5 separate regions of the Homo sapiens genome follow, and regions 1, 2, 3 and 5 are each linked to region 4. The links are contacts of gene promoters, found by promoter capture Hi-C in human tissues and cell types (Jung and others, 2019). All regions are on one chromosome and are shown on one strand. Each heading gives the region's core, a stretch centred on a gene start or on the middle of the fragment in contact. The rest is flanking DNA. Distances are from core to core; before and after follow the strand shown.

Evidence for each region. Contacts are between HindIII fragments. The study calls those that stand out against the background at their distance.
Region 1: a fragment that was not itself captured here is called in contact with the fragment with the promoter of SEC14L5 in region 4 in 1 of the 25 tissues and cell types used here (hippocampus).
Region 2: a fragment that was not itself captured here is called in contact with the fragment with the promoter of SEC14L5 in region 4 in 1 of the 25 tissues and cell types used here (dorsolateral prefrontal cortex).
Region 3: the fragment with the promoter of C16orf96 here is called in contact with the fragment with the promoter of SEC14L5 in region 4 in 1 of the 25 tissues and cell types used here (mesenchymal stem cells).
Region 5: the fragment with the promoter of CDIP1 here is called in contact with the fragment with the promoter of SEC14L5 in region 4 in 1 of the 25 tissues and cell types used here (neural progenitor cells).

What each region holds. Positions count from the first base shown.
Region 1 is chr16:4,503,059-4,505,773 of GRCh38, reverse strand. It overlaps HMOX2 (heme oxygenase 2), which reads right to left. Exons shown (of 6, transcript NM_002134.4): 2 at 164-290. The coding sequence starts at 249. Among named protein-coding and RNA genes, the nearest start is that of HMOX2, 28 kb to the right of the region's middle. The HindIII fragment of the contact is 3,869 bases long and covers 1-2,715 here.
Region 2 is chr16:4,650,180-4,653,010 of GRCh38, reverse strand. It overlaps MGRN1 (mahogunin ring finger 1), which reads right to left. Exons shown (of 17, transcript NM_015246.4): 2 at 2,528-2,646; 3 at 960-1,048; 4 at 187-333. Among named protein-coding and RNA genes, the nearest start is that of MIR6769A, 20 kb to the left of the region's middle. The HindIII fragment of the contact is 6,104 bases long and covers 1-2,831 here.
Region 3 is chr16:4,555,090-4,557,910 of GRCh38, reverse strand. It overlaps C16orf96 (chromosome 16 open reading frame 96), which reads right to left and starts at 1,571. Exons shown (of 16, transcript NM_001145011.2): 1 at 1,002-1,571. The coding sequence starts at 1,421. The HindIII fragment of the contact is 10,803 bases long and covers 1-2,821 here.
Region 4 is chr16:4,956,924-4,959,723 of GRCh38, reverse strand. It overlaps SEC14L5 (SEC14 like lipid binding 5), which reads right to left and starts at 1,394. Exons shown (of 16, transcript NM_014692.2): 1 at 1,279-1,394; 2 at 338-451. The coding sequence starts at 400. RefSeq lists an enhancer at 867-1,402 and silencers at 1,206-1,501, 1,300-1,509. The HindIII fragment of the contact is 18,853 bases long and covers 1-2,800 here.
Region 5 is chr16:4,537,322-4,540,034 of GRCh38, reverse strand. It overlaps CDIP1 (cell death inducing p53 target 1), which reads left to right and starts at 1,262. Exons shown (of 6, transcript NM_013399.3): 1 at 1,262-1,333. It also overlaps a transcript of C16orf96 not described here. RefSeq lists silencers at 1,346-1,635, 1,646-1,865. The HindIII fragment of the contact is 9,452 bases long and covers 1-2,713 here.

The sequences.
Region 1 (2,715 bases), core at 48-2,547, 450 kb after region 4:
CCGAAGCTGTATGCGGTCCCTGCAGGGCCAAGCAGGCACCCAGGGGTCCAGAGCTCATGGCCCATGGCCACTCCCCAGTGCTGCCAACAGACAAAACCAGGTGTGCTGAGCACGACAGGTGCTGGGCCCACCTGATTCAGTGCAGCCAGCCCCCATCGCTCACCTCATTTGGTTCTCCTTTTCTAGGGCCCCAGAGTTCTTTTTTTCTGACTCGTCTACCCCCTCTGAGGTTTCCACTTCCGCTGACATTGCTGCTGGGTGTGGTTCTTGCTGCTCTCGCTCCTCTGGTCCTGCAGAGACACAAGGAGCTGGTGATGTGGCACCCACGGCAGTCACTTCCCCAAATACCTGTCGGTTCTGCTTTCCTCAGAGCGAATGTAACCAAGGTGACACCCACACACCCCAGGATTGTTTTCTTTAAAATAAAGCTCTGCCATTACTGGGACCATAGTGGAATATGGAAAAAATCTGAATATGAACAATGTATTAGGTAATAGCATTGTATTGACATTAAGCTTGCTGGTTTTTAAAAATAATTGTACTGCGATTATATAAGAGAATGTCTTTGTTCCTAAGAAATACACACTGGGGTATTCAGAAGTAAAGGTACACTGCCTGCAACTCCCTGTCAGATGGTTCAGAAGACAGTGTGTGTGCATGTGCATATGCTGCAGGGTGGGGGACACTGGCAAGTCAGAAAAGCAAACAAGGCAAAATCCTAGCAGTGAATCTGGGGAAGAGGTATGAGAGTTCTTTGTACTATTCTTACCATTTTTCTGTATGCTTAAAACTGTATCAAGGCAGGGCACAGTGGCTCATGCCTGTAATCCCAGCACTTTGGGAGGCCGAGGCAGACTGGAGTTTGAGACTAGCCTGGTTAACATGGTGAAACCCTGTCTCTACTAAAAATACAAAAAATAGCCGGGCATGGTGGTGCACACTTGTAATCCCAGCTACTCGGGAGGCTCAGGCAGGAGAATCTCTTGAGCCCAGGAGGCAGAGGTTGCAGTGAGCCGAGATCACGCCGTTGCACTCCAGCCTGGGCAACAAGAGCGAAACTGTCTTAAAAAAAAAAAAAAAAAAAAAAAAAAGACCGTATCAAAATTAAAAGTTAGGCCAGACACGGTGGCTCATGCCTGTAATCCCACCACTTTGGGAGGCCAAGGTGGGTGGATCACCTGAGGTTAGGAGTTTAAGACCAGCCTGACCAACATGGAGAAACCCTGTTTCTACTAAAAATGCAAAATTAGCCGGATGTGGTGGCGCGTGCCTGTAATCCCAGCTACTCAGGAGGCTGAGGCAGGAGAATCACTTGAACCTACGAAGCAGAAGTTGCAGTGAGCCAAGATCGCGCCACTGCACTCCAGCCTGGGCAATAAGAGTGAAACTCTGTCCAAAAAAAAAAAAAAAAAAAAAAAATTGAAAGTTACCAAAAACAAAGAAAACCTCAAAAACCTTAGGGAAACAAAAAGCTTGGCAAGCAACGCACAGTTCCACCCCTCTGCAAGCGTGCTGAGGCCAGTTCATCCTACCTGTGAGAGGCTGGGTGCCTTGTGCAGAAGGCAGCCTACAGGAGTTACCAAAAAAGCAGACTGTCCCTAGCCTACTCAGGACTTTGCTAGGCTGAAGGAAATATTAAGTTGGCCAATCAATTCCCATTGCCTGCTGCAAATGCTGAGCCTTTGTCAGCCAGGGAAACACAGTCCCATAACAAGGCAAGCTCATCCTCCATCCCTCGGGGCTTCTGCTCAGGCAATGTAAGGCGCAGCCCATTTGGGGAATCTTCCACATGAATAGCAGCACAGTAGCACCGACAACTAATAAAGTAACTCACAAAGACAGAACTGGGGCCAAATCAGGCCAAACTGGGCCAAGGAAAAAGAACTTATTTACTGAGCATTTTCTATGTGCTCTACCCAGAAACAGGTGTCAAGAAGAACACAGAAGTGTTAAGAAATGGTCCTTAAAAGGCCCAAGGCACATATCCTTCCTGAGTTTTCTCTAGATACCTAGTTACATTTTTGTTATCTTTTAGGATATTATAGTACATGGTTTGCTCACTGAGGTCTTTTTGAACCATCTCTCTCACCTTTAGATTTAGCATCTCTACTGGGATTATTTTAGGAAGTCAAGCAATAACTCATATAGCACAATGCCTACCATGTGATAAGCACTCAATGAATGTTACATCATGATCATACTTTATTTTGACTGAGGCTTAGTGATGTCTGAGAACACTCAGAAAATAAACATCGGGATGTACAGAAAAATGGAACCTTCTCTTGACTCCAAATCAGAGACACTCTACTCTGCAATAATGCTGATGAACTGTACGATGCACAGCACAGTCTAGAAGAATGTGAAAGCAGGCAGGTATTACATGCAGGGAAGAGTATGCAGAGGGCTTCCTGGGGCAGGACCCTCAACACAGACAGGATTTGGGGCAGGGCTGGGGGAGGGCCTCCAGATCAAGGGAATATTATGAACAAAGCCAGAAATGGGTAGTTCACAGAGATAGCATAAGGCTGCCCAGCTGTGCGTCCACTTACCAAGGGGCAAAAACAGGCATTGCAAGCTGTAGAATAAGCCTCACATGGGCCTTCAGACCTTGATTTATAAATGTTTTCTTTTTTTTTTTTGGTAAAAGTACAGCTTTGCTAGCCGGGCGCGGTGGCTCACGCCTGTAATCCCAACACTTTGGGAGGCCGAGGTGGG
Region 2 (2,831 bases), core at 163-2,662, 310 kb after region 4:
TGGTTCCCGCAGAAAAGTGGGGAGTCCCTGGGGTGGGAGAAACCCCTCACATCGTGGTAAAGTCCTGGGAGTATGGTCAAAGAGCACGGTTTGGTTTTCTCCCTCTGGTTAGTAAGGTGGACAGAAGCCTCCCCCAGGAGTCTGGGGCCCCCAGCCAGGCCGGTGCCAGCCGCCCGCGGGACTCACACTGCCCTGCCGTTCAGGAACTCCTCCGATGCCTGGCAGTAGATGGTGATGGCCACGCGGGCATCGGCGTCGAAGGTGAACTCCAGGCTGTAGAGCACCCGGGGCTTGTCGCCGTCCTCGGTGGGGCTGTCGGCATCGTCTTTGTACCTACCCCAGGCGGTGGAGAGAAAGGCAGCGGGTCAGCGGCCCCATCTGCGGAGGCTGCCTCCTCCCCTGCCAGGCTGAGGGGCCGTGGAGGTGGCTATGTGGACACAGCCCGCTTCTCCAGTAGACATAGGGGCTGTTTCCTATTTGTACATGAAAGCCCAGTGGTCCAGGGCTTGCCTCTCCTTCTTCCTGCCCACAGAAGACGGGGTACGTGCTTTTGGTTCAGAGACAGCCCCAGATGCCTCAAGTCTAGTCGGTTTAAGCAGTTTCTGAACCTGCTGAAATCTGGTGCTGGGTCATTCCTGTCTGTGGGGGGGCCGTCCTGTGCATGGCAGGAAGTCTGCAGCACCCCTGGCACCCACCTGAGATGCCAAGCACCCCACCTGGCTGCCTCCAGACACTGCCCAGGGTCCCTGTGCGGCACAGCTGAGAAGCCCTGGCTAAACGGCTCTTGTTCCACATGCCCTTTCCCTCGCTCAGCCCAGGACAGCCTCTCATTCCACACGGGAGGGCGCAGAAACTGGGGCCCCTCCCGCCTGCCCTTTTCCTCAAGCATCAAGCCAGAACCTCCACCACAGGCTGCGCCCCACAGAGCCACAGGGTCCCCAGGGGCAGGGTGAAGTTACCTCACCAGCCGCAGGGAGTCTTTGCGGATGTTCACCAGGCTCCGCAGCGTCTTCACGGGCTCGTGGGGGGCAGGAGTGACGTAGGGAAACTAGGAGAAAAACCACAGGGCCCCAGGTGACTCCCTCAGGAGCAGCCAACAACAGAAAACGGGTCAGGGTGCAGCAGCCACAGCCCCAGAGGGTATCCCTGGGATCTAGTCCCATGGGAGGGGCTATACTGGGTGCACTGTTCTCATTTACAGGTAGAAGCTGCAGGCCACGCAGCCAGCACACGCAACGGCCAGGACCAAATCACCCTGAGCAAATCCAGCCAGGCAGCCTCAACGCCAGACCCCTGCACGCTGGGGCTGCCCATCCCCAACCTGCTCTCCCAGGCTTCCCATATCCATCACTGCCCCGAGCACCCTCAGCCCCTTCCTCAGTCCCCACCCTTTCCATCCCCAAAGCTTCCTACGAGCACAGCTCAGCAACCCGCCCCAGGGCCCCCAAAGTTTACTGGCTCTTCCGGCCTCCTGTCCCCTGAGGCCTGCACCCTCTCACCTCTTCCTCTGTTCCCAGGCCCCCTGCCTTCTAGCTTCTTCTGGAGGGGCCCCCTTCCCACCTATCATGGCTTGGTTCAGCCATGGCCTCTCCAGTAGAGCCTCCCTTTCTGCCCCTTCTCTCTTCTACCCATTTGTCCCGTATTAATTGTCTACGCCCCCACCAGGTAGCAGAGGCAGGGTCTGCTTTCACCCCAAGCCCTGGAAGAGCACTAGGCACGCAGCAGGTGCCACATGTGTGCTGAACAGACAGCTCACAGTACTCGAGTACTATGACAGTACTCGAATGTGCCCTTCTCTGGCAACGAGGGGAAGATGTTAGCCAGCTGTCTGCATCTCTCCTTTGGACCATGTCTCTTGCCCACTGTTCTAGGGAAAGTAAATATTCTTTTTTTTTTTTTTCTTTGAGACAGTCTCCCTTTGTTGCCCAGTCTGGAGTGTAGTGGTGCAATCTCGGCTCACTGCCACCTCCGCCTCTCAGATTCAAGTGATTCTCCTGCCTCAGCCTCCCGAGTAGTTGGGATTACAGGCACGTGCCACCACACCCGGCTAATTTTTCTTTTTTTTCAGTAGAGACGGGGTTTCACCATTTTGGCCAGGCTTGTCTCAAACTCCTGACCTCAGGTGATCTGCCCGCCTCAGCCTCCCCAAGTGCTGGGATTACAGGCGTGAGCCACAATGCCCAGTCTGTAAATACTATTTTTGCCTTGTAAAGAAAGTCATCCAAGAAGGCTGGAATCAAATCCACCATGTTCCGCAGCCGTTGCAGCCCAGACGCACCCATTCAGTATGGCTGCTCTGTTTCTCAGTGACCTGCCCCTGGCCATCTGGCCTCTAGGGGGCAGCACCAGGACACAACCCATTCCAGGGCACGTGCCCACACCCAAGCTCAACTGGAATCCTGCCAGGAGCTCTGCCCCCTTTAGGGGTGATTTGGTGCCTGCTTGCCCTCATGGCTGGGATGCGGACTGCTGGGGACAGGGGCCTCCCACCCCCACAGCCCCATGAGACAGCCCTGTCCAGACCCACCTGGACCGGGCGGCTGCCCAGGAAGTTCAGATCCATGTTCTCTCCAAAGAGGTAACCTTCAGGGTGGGGGGTGTCGAATTTCTCTCCTCCCATGAAAAAGTGCGAAGCAAAGTAGTTTCCTGTTTAAAAAAGGAAACACGATTATAGATTTTTTTTTTTTTTTTTTGAGACAGAGTCTCAGGCTAGAGTGCAGTGGCGCTCCACCCAGGCTGGAGTGCAGTGGCGCTATCTCAGCTCACTGCAAGCTCCGCCCACCGGGTTCAAGCGATTCTTCTGCCTCAGCCTCCCGAGTAGCTGGGATTAC
Region 3 (2,821 bases), core at 322-2,821, 400 kb after region 4:
ATCACTTGAGCCTAGGAGTTTGAGTCCAGCCTGGGCAACATAAGGAGACCCTATCTCTACAAACAATACAAAAATTAGCCAGGTGCAGTGGTGCACACCTGTGGTCCCAGTTACTCGGGAGGTTGAGGTGGGAGGATTGCTTGAGTCTGGGAGGTCGAGGCTACAGTGAGCCATGACTGAGTCACTGCACTCCAGCCTGGATGACAGAGTGACACCCTGTCTCAAAAAAAAATTGGGGTGAAATTCACATAATGTACAATTAGCCATTTTTAAGTGAACAATTCAGTGTCATTTAGTACATCAGTGAGGTTGTATAACTACCACCTCCATCTAGTTCCAAAACATTTTCATCACCCCAAAAGGAAACCCTATATCCACAAAGCAATTACTCCCCATTCTCTCCTCCTCCAAGCCCCTGGCAACCACTGCTTTCTGTCTCCATGGATTTACCTATTCTGGACATTTCGTATAAATGGAATCATACACTGGGTAGCCTTTTGTGTCTGGCTTCTTTGCAATACTTGATGGAGGCTGCAAGCTTGGCGTTTTGGTTGTGCCTGACTCTAAAGCACCCTTCTTCCCACTCTGCATAAGGAGATGGCCCATCGTAGGTGAGTAAGCAACAAGATGTCCCAGGAGAAGGCTGGGCGCAGTGGCTCACGCTTGTCATCCCAGCACTTTAGGAAGCCGAGGCAGGTGGATCAGTTGAGATCAGGGGTTTGAGACCAGCCTGGCCAACATAGTGAAACCCCATCTCTACTAAAAATACAAAAATTAGCCGGGTGTGGTGGCATGTGCCTGAAATCCTAGCTACTAGGGAGGCTGAGGCAGGAGAATCACTTGAACCCGGGAGGCGGAGGTTGCAGTGAGCCAAGATCACACCACTGCACTCCAGCCTGGGTGACAGAGCGAGACGGAGTCTCAAAAACAAAAAAAAGACGTCCCAGGAGAGAGCCAGTGGTGAAGGGAGGAAAAGAAGTGTCTGGAGGCTGGGGGCGTACCTTGGCCATGACTTCATCATGACCCTCCACCATCTTCCGGAGCTTGATCAGATGCCACAGGTCCTGGACGGGCCGGGCAGTGCCCTGGCTGGCTTCCAGCAGCTGGGCAGTGGAGGGCAGGTCCTGCAGCAGGGCCAGCTGGTTCTCCAACTTGTCGAGGCGGCTCACCACGTGGTCGAAGACATTGCTGAGCCTCTTCATGGGGTTGAGGATAGGCTGGGCGTCTCCTTCCCTGGGCATGATGACCACCTGCGAGGTCTGCAGGAAGTCCTCATCGCCTGAGAGGACTTTCTTGAGCTCGGCCATGTGGATGTGCTCCAAGATGCCGTGCAGCAGGAGGTGCAGGGCCTTGAAGTTCAGCACCCCGCACTGTGGGATGGCGATGTTGGCCAGCTCGGTGAACGTGAGTGAGAAGCTCATCCTGCCAGGGTGGGTCAGTGGGGCTGGGGTTCCAGGTGTCCTCAAGGACAAGGGGTAGCTTTCAGTGGTTCCGAGAGCTACATGGACTGGTCCTCAGAGGCCTGGGGTGGTGGTGAGTCACAGCAGTCAGGGAGGAATGGCCTCTGTTCTGGCTGGAGCTCAGATCAGAGTCTCTGGTTGCCAGGACACCAAAGAATGTGATGAAACGGGCGCAATTCAAAGTCTGGAGTGGGGCAGGTGCTCCCTGGTAAGCCTCACCCAGAGTAGGTGCTCAGTTAATATTGGATGAATGTTTGAATAGCTGATGGCAGCCTCTTCATTCAAGCCCTCTGGTGATGTGAGACTGGTAACTTTTTCCTAGAAGCACATATGGAAGGGATGGAGAGGCAGCTCCCTCCTTGGAATTTTCTCGAATCCGGGCAGAAGACAGGTTTCTTGGAGTTAGGAAGACCCAGGTTTTACAAAGAGATAAGAATCTGAAGTACTGGCTGGGTGGGTGTGGGGGTTCAGGCCTGTAATCCCAGCACTTTGGGGAGGCAAAGGCGGGAGGACTGCTTGAAGCCAGGAGTTCGAGAGCAGCCTGGGCAACATAGTGAGACCCTGTTTCTACAAAAAAAAATTTGTAATTAGCTGGATGTGCTGGCGCACATCTGTAGTCCCAGCTACTCAGGAGGATGGGGTGGGAGGATTGCTTGAAGCCAGGAGTTTGAGGCTACAGTGAGCTATGATTGTGCCACTGCACTTAGCCTGGGCAACAGAGTGAGACCTTGCCTCAAAAAAAAAAAAAAAAAGAAAAGAAAAGAAAAAGAAAAGAGAAAAGGCCGGGCACAGTGGCTGACATATGTAATCCCAGCACTCTGGGAGGCCAAGGCGGGTGGACCACGGGGTCAGGAATTCAAGACTAGCCTGGCCAAGACGGTGAAACTCCGCCTCTACTAAAAATACAAAAATCAGCCAGGCGTGGTGGCACGTGCCTGTAATCCCAGCTACTCTGGAGGCTGAGGCAGAGAATTGCTTAAATCCGGGAGGTGGAGGTTTCAGTGAGCCAAGATCGTGCCACTGCACTCCAGCCTGGGCGACAGAGCGAGACTCCGTCTCAAAAGAAAAAAAAAAGAATCTGAAGAACTACATTCATTTCTGGACGCATCCAAAGGCCCCCCACAGTGTTCCATTTTCTCGTGTGTGTGTGTGTGTGTGTGTGTGTGTGTGTGTGTGTGTGTAGTGTGTGTGACAAAGTCTTTCTCTGTTACCCAGGCAGGAGTGCAGTGGCGCGATCTCCGCTCACTGCAACCTCCGCCTCCTGGGTTCAAGCGATTCTCCTGCCTCAGCCTCCTGAGTAGCTGGGATCACAGGCGCCTGCCACCACGCCCAGCTAATTTTTATATTTTTAGTGGAGATGG
Region 4 (2,800 bases), core at 145-2,644:
CCATTCCATTTATCACTGTGATATGCCATTATATGAAATGACAGCAGTGGCTTGGCCCCTGATACCTTTGTTTTCTATCAGGAGAGTCTAAAGTAAGGGAGCAGGTCAGCTTCAACAAGGAGAAGGAAGAAAGACTTTGTGTTTTGGTCACTGGGCCGAGGATAGGATGGTTGGACAGAGAGGTCACTGGATAGAAGTTAAACCCACCAGGTCAGCTGAGTAACTCACTAATTCCTTCTGATCTGGGAGTCTAAGGAGCTCCGTCTTCCTACCGCCATAGCTGATCTCAAGCCCCTCCAACTGTCACATGGGGGCCCAAGAATCAGGAGTCACTCACCGCCATGACCAGCTCAAACGGGTACTTGTAGACTCGGACAGGAGACTGGTATCTTTGCACCATGTTCACGCTGGAGCACCAATGGAGGTCACCAGGCAGGGGTGTGCACAGAGCCTGGGGCGAGGAGTGACTGGTGAGGTTGCAGCTCCCACCTCGGGAAGCAGGGACACCACCCACCAAGTGTAAGGGGCAGCCCCTGGCCCCACCCACACAGCTCCCCAGCCTTCAAATTGAGAAGGCTGATATTCCCCCCAAATTACTCCAGGCCAAGCCCCAACAGCTTCCCTGTCATTAGCCATGGCCCCAGACCACGCTCAGCCTTCCAAGAGCAGTCAGCACCCCCAAACTTTCCTCTACCCCCACCCCTTCACACTGAGGGCCCCCAGAAGCCTTACGGCCACCCACACAGACACACACACATTTGCAATTCTTACACTCCCACGGTTCTATTCACGCATGCACCCCGCAGCTTGCCACAGACTTGCTGGCCTACAGCCCACCCCCGAGTCTCCTTGCACCTGCCCTCCCATTTTCCTCCCAGACACCCTGACATACACACACAGCCTTCACCACATTTCACAGGCACTGTCTCTATCACACACATGTACACACGCAGGTTTCCCTCCCACACGGGACTGCTTTTGCACACGCCTCCAACTTTGCACACACACCCTGAAACACGCACCTGCCCAGCTCCACGCACGCAATTCCCCTGGTGTGCACAGACGTGCACACACGCACACACACCCGTGCGCACATGCACACACACGTACACACACGTAGAGGCAATCGCACACGCATGCACACACAGGTCCCCGCAGCTTTGCTCACCCTCGCCCTCGGGAGCCTTTGGGAATGCAGCCTAGGGGAAGTGCCCTGGAAGCCCGCCTGGCTCGGGAGCTGAGCGCTTACCCGCGCCCGCCTGGCCTGGAGCGCAGTACCTGAGGCGGGGCCCGATCGCGGATCTCTAGCCTGGTGTGTCCCGCCTTGAACACCCTGCGGCCAGGACAGCTGTGGAAGGCCGGAGGGGCGGGAGCGAAACCTGCCGGGCCGAGAGAGCTCCAGGACCCGGGACAGCGGAGATCCTGGCCTGGCCCCGCCCCTGACCTGGTCCCGCCCACGTCCCCGGCCATGGCCCCGCCCAGGTTGGCCCTGCCCCCTAACTGGTCCCGCCCCACTCTGGCCCCGCCCCAGGCGAACTCCCCCTGGTTCTAGCCCCGCCCCTTATTTTTAGATGTCGCTTGTTTGACCACGCCCTCAGCCCAGTCCTTTCTCTAGATTGGTCACACCTCAGGAAGTCCCCTCCCCCTTCACTGGCCCCGCCCTCCAAGGCCCTCAGCCTCGGGGAATGGTAGGCCACAGGACGACCCCGCCCTAATCTAGCTCTGCCTCCAAGCAGACCCTGAGTCCGGGCCGACCCGCCCCGGACCCTGCGTCTGGCCGACAGTACTGTTTACATTTGTAGATAAGCAGAATTTACGCTTTTCTTGCTCAGATTAACCTCGCCCTCGTCCCGCTGCACTTGGGTCTGACTGGCTCCTCCACCTGTCCCCGCCCCACGGCCCGCGCATGCACCTTCGCCCACTCTGCACACCTTCACAGAGCGCCTGCTGGGGGTCAGCCCTGTCCAGGCGCTGGAGAGCCGCCGGTGAGCCACACGCACGAATCCCTGCCCTCGTGGAGTTTATACTACGGTGGGGAGACAGACACTCAATAAATAAGGCAAATATATGATGTGTGAGGTAGTGAAAAACTCTAACGAGAGAAAAATAAGCAGGAAAGGGGCTCAAGGAGCCAGCGGAGAGAAAGGACAATTTAAAACAGGTAAGAGGCCGGGCGCCATGTCTCACGCCTGTAATCCAAACACTTTAGGAGGCGGAAGCGGGAGGACCGCTTGAACCCAGGAGTTGGAGACCACCCTGGGTAACATAGCAAGAACCTATCTCTACAAAAAAATTTTTTTTTAGTTTAGGCAGGGCGCGGTGGCTCACGCCTGTAATCCCAGCACACTGAGAGGCCAAGGCAGGCAGATCAGCTGAGGTCAGGAGTTCGAGAACAGCATGGCCAATATGAGGAAACCCCGTCTCTACTAAAATACAAAATTAGCCGGGCATGGTGGCGTATACCTGTAATCTCAGCTACTCGGGAGGCTGAGGCAGGAGAATCGCTTGAATCAAGGAGGCGGAGGTTGCAGTGAGCCGAGACTGCGCCACTGCACTCCAGCCTGGGCAAGAAGAACAAAGCTCCGTCGCAAAAAAAAAAAAAAAAAATTAGCCAGGCGTGTTGGCACGTGCCTGTGGTCCCAGCTACTCAAGAGGCTGAGGCAGGAGGATCCCTTGAGCCCAGAAGTTCAAAGCTGCAGTGAGCTGTTACCTGGCCACTGCACTCCAGCCTGGGCAACAAAGCAAGACTCGGTCTCAAAATAAATAAGTAAATAAATAAATAAAACAGGGAGTAAGGGGG
Region 5 (2,713 bases), core at 13-2,512, 420 kb after region 4:
GGAGACCAAAGTTTCATTACTCAAATCAGTCTCCCTGGAAATTCAGAGCCTAGAGTTTTTAAAGGGTAATTTGGTAGATAAGCTGCCAAGGAGTAGGGAGTGCTGATTGGTGGGGTGGGAGATGAAATCACAGGGTGTTGAAGGATGCAAGAACTGGTTGAGTCAGATTACAGCTCTAGGTGGCCTTGGCTGGTGCATCAGACTGCAGGGTCAGAAAAACACCTAAGAGTACCAATCTTAGGTTTTACAATAGTGATATTATACCTAGGATCAACTGGGGAGGTTTAGAATCTTGTGGCCTCTGGGTGCATGACTCCTAAACCGTAATTTCTTTCTTTCTTTCTTTTTTTGAGATGGAGTCTCAGTCTCTTGCTCAGGCTGGAGTGCAGAGGCATAATCTCAGCTCACTGCAACCTCCATCTCTCGGGTTCAAGCAATTTTTGGGCTTCAGCCTCCCTAGTAGTTGGGATTACAGGTGCGTGCCACCATACCCGGCTAATTTTTGTATTTTTAAATAGAGACATGGTTTCACCATGTTGGCCAGGCTGGTCTCAAACTCCTGACCTCAAGTGATCCACCTGCGTCAGCCTTCCAAAGTGCTGGGATTACAGGCGTTAGCCACTGAGCTGGGCCCTAAACTATAATGTCTAATCTTGTAGCTAACGTGTTACTCTTACAAAGGAAGCCTGGTTCTCAGGCAACAAGGGGGTTTGTTTTGGGAAAGGGCTGTTAACTATCTTTGTTTCAATATTAAACTATAAACTAAGTTGCTCCCAAAGTTAGTTCTGCCTATGCCTAGGAATGAACAAGGACAACCTGGAGGTTAGAAGCAAGATGGAGTGGGTTAGGTCAGCTCTCTTTCACTGTCATAATTTTCTGTTGTAATTTTTGCAAAGGCAGTTTCAAGCGCAGGGACAGTGACCGTGTGGTTCAAGGTTTTATGTAATGCACCTCCCAAACTCAATAAATATTAGTCGCATAAAAGAAAAAATGCAGCCCTGGAGGAAGATGCCCTGCCCTGTTGCTGGCATGAGTGAAGAGGAGGCGCTCACAGGGACGGTTCTTTCCCTATTCTCCAGCCTCGTGTACATTGGGCAAACAGGCCCCGACCATCCCACGTGCTCAGCCCCAGCTCTAGGCCAAATCGCCTCCGCTCCCACTGACGTCATCACGGCGCATCACGTGCCTCCCGAGACCCCACCCCCCACCGTGACGTCCCGGGCCTCGGCCCTGGTCCAAAGTCTACCCGCCTCCTTGTGACAGAAGTGCGACTGCCAGCTGCCGAGGCGTTCGGTCCTGCTGTTGCGGCCGCTGCCCCAGGGCTGCGGGGACGGTGAGTCGACTGGACGCATTCGGAGACGGCTTCGCGCGGGAGCCCTCCTCCCCGGGGGAAGGGTCTGGGCGCCAGCTCTCCTCAGGTCGGGGCGTGACCTCGGACCGTGGCGCCCCCTCCCCGCCCCCGCCCGCGGCGCCTGGGCGGTGCATGCCGGGCACCGTAGTCCCCAGCCTCTCAGAGCGGGTTGTGGTGGGGGGGGTGACCGGGCGGACTACAAGTCCTAGAAGCCTCTGGGCGGTGGGGTGGGCGGTGGGTTGGGGGGTTTCGTTGTGCGCGCAAAGCCGCGCGGGGCTGAGGGTCTTGTTCTGCCGGCGCCTGTCCGGACCCGGGCCCCTCTCCGCTTTCGGCCGGCCTCGGGCACCGGGCTTCTGGAGGTAAAGCGGGGCCGGCGGTTGGGGCGCGGCATGGCGGGGCCCGTCCTCCCCTCAGGGCGCTGCCGAGACCTAGCGCGGCCCTGGGGATGTCGAAGCCGCTGCGGTGGCGGGGCCCGGGCGGGCGCCCCGCTGTGTGCCGCGGGGTTGTGCGCCCGGAATGGCAGCCTGCTCGCCCGCACGTTTTTCCGTCAGGGAAGGTTGTGGAAATTGCCATCTCCGTCTTGCAGGGCGAGACGGGGAGGGGAGGGGTGGGAGTTGTTTTCTCAAGGAAAGGGGGTCGAGGAGGAGCCCCGTGGCCGAGCCAGCCCCTGCCGAGCCCCGCGGGTGACCTTGGCCGTCCCGGAGCCCAGCAGTGTCCTGCACCCGCGCCCGGCTCGCCGACGTGTGGAGTCGGGATGTGGCGCTCGGCCGCGCATCCCCGGCGGAGATGGCGACGGCCTGGCCTAGCTTGGGGCTAGGAGTCGCGCCTTCGAGGACCTTGGCTTAGCGAGTTCCTTGGGGGGCTTCTCAACAGGTGTTAGATGAGGTGGGGCGAGTGGCTGTGAGTTCCTCCAAAGGTGGGCTCAAGATCCTCTGCGTCAGAACCACCTGGGGCTCTTGGGAAACGGGCAGATTCCTGGGGCCCACCCCAGGTGTTGGGATGCTGTAGTTCCGTCGCGCTGCCCAGGAATCTGCATTTAGTAGGCTCCCCAGATCATTCCCGGGCGCAGCTGGGGCTGAGAACCTGTCCCAGTGAGGGGGTTGGCGGGCCCGGGGGCAGGGACGTTCCATAGTGTTTCTGCCAGTTTCTTCTGTATTCTGGGGCCTGATGCTGGGCGGGGCGGTGCCCGGGCAAGTTACTGCTCTCCTGGGTTCTTTGCTGCTTCCCTTGGGGCCGATCTAGGTAGAACTGGGTGGAGGGAGGCGTGCCAGCTCTGCCTTGCCCTCTGCCCTTAATCGGAAAGGTTATGCCCAGTCACTTGCCAGTCTCAGAAGACTCCCCCTCTACACATTCAGTTACGAA